2 separate regions of the Homo sapiens genome follow, and region 1 is linked to region 2. Evidence: promoter capture Hi-C in 16 types of primary human blood cells and fetal thymus (Javierre and others, 2016). All regions are on one chromosome and are shown on one strand. Each heading gives the region's core, a stretch centred on a gene start or on the middle of the fragment in contact. The rest is flanking DNA. Distances are from core to core; before and after follow the strand shown.

Region 1 (2,700 bases), core at 123-2,622, 1.2 Mb before region 2:
ATTATAAATGGACTATATACAATGATCAAGTGAGATTTATCACAGTAATGCAAGATTGAAAACCAAGGTAGGGCAAAAATCACATGATCATCTCAGATGCAGAAAAAGCATTTGGCAAAATGTAACATTTTTTCATAATGAAATAAAATCCAACAAAGTAGGAATGAAAGGGAGCTTCCTCCACCCTATGAAGAACATCTATGAAAAACTCACAGCTAACATTACAATGGTGAAAGATTGAAAGCTTATCCTCTAAGATCAGGAATAAGACCAAGATGTTTGCACTCACCACTTCCATTCAATATTGTACTGGAGGTTCTAACCATGGTACTTAAGCAAGAAAAAAAAGGCATCAAGATTAAAAAGGAGATAAAACTAAATTTGCAAATTACGTGATCTATAGAGAAGGCCCAAAAGAATCCATATTTAGAGCTAAAAAGTTCAGCAAGATTGTAGGATACAAGATGAATTGTATTTCTTTTTTTTTCTTTTTCTTTTTTTTTTTGAGACGGAGTGTCTTGCTCTGTTGCCCAGACTGGAGTGCAGTGGCGCAATCTTGGTTCACTGCAACCTCCACCTCCCGGGCTCAAGTGATTCTCCTGCCTCAGCCTCCCGAGGAGCTGGGGCTACAGGTGCCCACCACCACGCCTGCCTAATTTTTGTATTCTTAGTAAAGACAGGGTTTCACCATATTAGCCAGGCTGGTCTCGAACTCCTTACCTTGTGATCCTCCCACCTCAGCCTCCCAAAGTGCTGGGATTACAGGCATGAGCCACTACACCCAGCCTGTATTTCTTTTTATTTTATTTATTTTTCTGGAGATGGCATTTTACTCTTGTTGCCCAGGCTGGAGTGCAATGGTGAGATCTCAGCTCACTGCAACCTCTGCCTCCGGGTTCAAGTGATTCTCCTGCTTCAGCCTCCCGCCTCGGCTTCCCAACTAGCTGGGATTACAGGCATGTGCCACCATGCCTGGCTAATTTTTGTATTATTAGTAGAGACAGGGTTTCACCATGTTGGGCCCAGGCTGGTCTTGAACTCCTGACCTTAGGTGATCCACCCACCTTGGCCTCCCAAAGTGCTGGCATTACAGGTGTGAGCCACCACGCCTGGCCTATGAATTGTATTTCTATTTCTACACACTAGTAAAGAATAATCTGAAAAATTAAGAAAACAATTCCATTTATAATAGCGTCAGAAAGAATAAAACACTAGGAATAGATTTAACCAAAGAAGCATGAAACTTGTACACTGATAACTACAAAACTATTGAAAAACATTCAAGGCCACCTTTATTTATTTATTTATTTATTTATCTGAGACAGAGTCTTGTTCTGTTGCCCAGGCTGGAGTGCAGTGGCACAATCTTCCCTTAATGCAACCTCTGCCTCCCGGGTTCAAGTGATTTTCCGGCCTCAGCCTCCCAAGTAGCTGGGATTACAGGTGTGCACCGCCACACCCAGCTAATTTTTGTATTTTTAGTAGAGATGGGGTTTCACCATGTTGGCAGGCTGGTCTTGAACTCCTGACCTCAAGGCCCACCTCAGTCTCCCAAAGTGCTGGGATTACACACTTGAGCCACCATACCCAGCTAAGACCTATTTATTTAGGTCTTGAATTTCTGTCAACAGTTCTGTAGTTTTCAATCTACAAGTGTTCGTAGATTGGAAAATTTATTATTAAAATGGTAATACTTCCCAGAGCAACCTATAGATTCCATACAATTCCTATTAAAATTCCATTATCCTTTTTTTTTGCAGAAATGGCCAAGAAAAATTCATAAGGAATTACAAAGATCATGAATAACAAAAACAATCTTGAAAAAGCTACAGTACTCAAGACAATGTGATAATGACATAGGATAGACATAGAAATCAATGGGATAGAATTGAGAGTCTGGATATAAACCCAAGCAAATATGGTCAATTGGTTTTCAACAAGGGTGCCAAGACCATTCAATGGGGGAAAAATAGTCTTTTCAACAAATGGTGCTGGGACGACTTGGATATCCACATGCAAAGTAATAAATTAGGAACACTATCTCACACTACGTAAAAATTAAAATGGATCAAAGGCCTAAATGTAAGCTAAAACTAAAAAGCTCTTAGAGCATAAGGAGAAATCTCTGTGACCTTGGATTAAGCAACAGTTTCTTAAATATGACACCAATGCACAAGCAAGCAAAAGAAATAAGTTGGTCTTCGTCAAAATTTAAAACTCTTGGCCGGGTGTGGTGGCTCACGCCTGTAATTCCAGCACTTTGGGAGCCAGAGGCAGGCAGATCATCTGAGGTCAGGAGTTTGAGACCAGCCTGGCCAACATGGTGAAACCCCATCTCTAGCAAAAATATGAAAAATTAGCCAGGCGTGGTGGCATTTGCCTGTAATTCCAGCTACTCAGGAGGCTAAGGCCTGAGACTAACAAATCTCGGCAAAGATATGGACAAATAAAAATCCTCACACATTGCTAGTGCGAATATAAAGTGGTGCAGCTGCTTTGGAAAAGCTTGGCAGTTCCTCAAATAGTTGAACATAAGAGTTATCAGGACCTAGCAATTCCACTACTAGGTGTATAACCAAGAGAATAAAAAAGCAATGTTCACACAAAAATTTGTACATGCATATTGATAGCAACAATATTTATAATAGCCAAGAAGTAGAAACACTCCAAACATCCATCAACCAATAAATGGATAAACAA
Region 2 (2,700 bases), core at 149-2,648:
CCTCCCCTCTTACCTCTTTAATTATCTAGGTCCTATATAGCCATAAAGGCCAAATTCAAGTGCCAATTCCACTATGATGGTTTTGATGGCTTCACTACCTACACCAGCTCTTGTTACTTCTCTTCATTGTACAGACTGTAGATTCATTCATTTGGTTTCGTACATATATCTTATCATATTCCTCACTTTTTGTAAGCGTCTCCCCTTGAATCCTATGCTTTTTAAACTTCTTGAGGACAGGGGCAATTTCTTCCTTATTTTTGTCTAATTAGACCCATGAACACTGTAGATACTCAAGAAAGGTAATTAATTAGGTGGGAGGATCCTGCCAGTGCATCTTCTATTTCTAGGGGCCAGAATACGAGCACATGAACCTAACATGATCTAGACAAGATTTAGAGATGCAGTTGAAGATACTGACAAATATTGGAACAATCTACCACAAAGGTGATACTGAGTCACTATTTTTGCAGAGCTTTGTTACTAGTTTGCCTTAAATAATTCAGAGTTTGTCCTGAGGGTAGGGAGTGGATAACAGTGAATTTAATCTTTTAAATTTCCTTCAAGTTTTATGATCGTGACACGGGGGCAACAGGAGAAGAGAAAAAGTTTGGAAACCAAACACAAATGTTTTCAGATTCCTGCTAGGTATGTAAATGGCTAAGTCAATGCCGGTAGGGGTACTCATTCAGAAACACCCAGTGCCACTCTGTACGGGCCACTAAATTGGGCACTGCGGATATAAAGGTTCATTCCTCGCTTACTGTACCCACAGCTGCCAAGAAATGACCACTACAAAACAGTCGTTATAACTGAGGGAACAAAGCGCCAAAGCAGCAACAAAAAGGGGTTCTTGCTGCTTCGCGGGATAGGGGGCTGAGCAGCCTCACAAAGGCGACGTCCTCGCAGTCTGAAGAGGAGTGGGCAAGGCGGACGAGGGTGGGGCTCAAGCGTCCGTCCGGTAAAAGTGAGCTGGAAGAACCGAGGCCCAGCGTGAGGAGGAACCGCGAACTACTTGCAGAAGGGCGAACGTCTGCTGCTGAAGGTGGAGAGGGAGTACCAATGTACGAGGCTTTATAGAAATGGCCGTTTGGTAAAGGGCAGTGACTCTGGAGCTTTTTCTCTAGGGATCCCGCCCGTCCTCCCCGGTTGAGCCTCGGCCCCAACAGCCCAGTGCCTCACCCAAGTGCCCCGAGTCCTGCTTCCGCCTCCGCTGCAGCCTCTCCCGCAGAGAGTCCAGCTGCTTCTTGTGGGCCTGGATAGAGCTCCACGTGTCCGACATCCTAGTCTCCCAGCCCTGACACCTCTCGAATAAGGCGCGGCGGACTAGCACCTCCCAGCACTCGCTCCAGGATATAGCCAATTCTCACGCGGACACCCCGAAGGCTAACCGGAAAATGACCCCTGGAGCTGAGCAAGACAGAAAAGTCATTTCCGGTGTCGCGCTTTCTTGGAAGCTATAAAGAGCCACGTTAGGTGTTGGCAGAGCGGCCGGTATAGTCCTCATACCCGCTCTCTCATGCTTCCGGACACAGTGAGGCTGTGGTTGCCATGTTGGTGACTGGCAGAGCGGCCATGTTGCTTATAGACGCGCATGCGGCCATGTTGAATATTCGGAGAGGAGTCCTGAGAGTTGACTTGTGTTAAAGTAGCACTCGTAGAGAGCAACACCATATAGTACAGTTTTGGGGGTTTTTTTCTTTTTTTTTTTTTTGAGACGGAGTTTCACTCTGTCGCCCTGGCTGGAGTGCAATGGCGCGATCTCGGCTCACAGCAACCTCCACCTCCCGGGTTCAAGTGATTATCCTGCCGCAGCCTCCCGAGTAGCTGGTATTACAGGCGCCCGCCACCACGCCCGGCAGATTTTTTGTATTTTTAGTAGAGACGGGGTTTCACTGTGTTGGCCAGGCCAGTCTCGAACTCCTCACCTCGTGATCCGCCCTCCTTGGCCTCCCAAAGTGCTAGGATTACAGGCGTGAGCCACCACACCCGGCCATAGTACAGATTTTTAAGATGAAGGATCACTAGTTCCTTTTGACAGTTTGGTACTAACATACCTTTTCCACTGAAGGTGGTGTTGGTTTGTTTCCATGCGTTCATTTACAAAAAAATAAAAAACACAACGGTGGTCCCCAATCTGAGGTGAGGAGGGGGCGGTGGTGGGTGCGGGCATGCTTCTTTGTGTTGACGAGGCGTGGGGAAGTGGGGAGGGCTGATGAAGGAAAAATCCGAGAGGTCTTCAAATACGTGATCTCTCTCTTAGGCTAAATTTACAAAGTACGTGTAATCTATTAAAATCGGGTTCCGACACTAAGAGGGCTTTGAGGTCCTGGTTGCGTTGTGTTTTTTGTTATGAGAGCTACCTGCATGAGTGTGTTCAGTTTGTGAAATGTAATTGAGCTGAACATTTTGGTGTGCACTTTTCTGTATGTGTAGTAAACTTAAATACAAGGTTGGTGGTGGTGGTTTTTCCTACAATCCTTTCTTTCTTTCTTTTTTTGACACATTTTCTTTTTTTTTTTTTTTTGAGATGGAGTCTCACTCACTCTGTCACCCAGGCTGGAGTGCAATGGCGTGGTCTCAGCTCACTGCAACCTCCGCCTCCTGGGTTCAAGCGATTCTCCTGCCTCAGCCTCCCGAATAGCTGGGATTACAGGCGCGTGCCACCACACCTGGCTAATTTTTTTTATTTTTAGTAGA

The links. Contacts are between HindIII fragments. The CHiCAGO score rates a contact against its expected background, and 5 or more counts as called.
Region 1: a contact is called between a fragment that was not itself captured here and the fragment with the promoter of METTL3 in region 2, in 1 of 17 cell types (monocytes). The highest score is 5.6, in monocytes.

The regions. Positions count from the first base shown.
Region 1 is chr14:20,359,215-20,361,914 of GRCh38, forward strand. No RefSeq gene overlaps it. Among named protein-coding and RNA genes, the nearest start is that of PARP2, 17 kb to the left of the region's middle. The HindIII fragment of the contact is 2,261 bases long and covers 243-2,503 here.
Region 2 is chr14:21,509,942-21,512,641 of GRCh38, forward strand. It overlaps METTL3 (methyltransferase 3, N6-adenosine-methyltransferase complex catalytic subunit), which reads right to left and starts at 1,399. Exons shown (of 11, transcript NM_019852.5): 1 at 1,183-1,399. The coding sequence starts at 1,282. RefSeq lists an enhancer at 1,442-1,681. The HindIII fragment of the contact is 13,792 bases long and covers 1-2,700 here.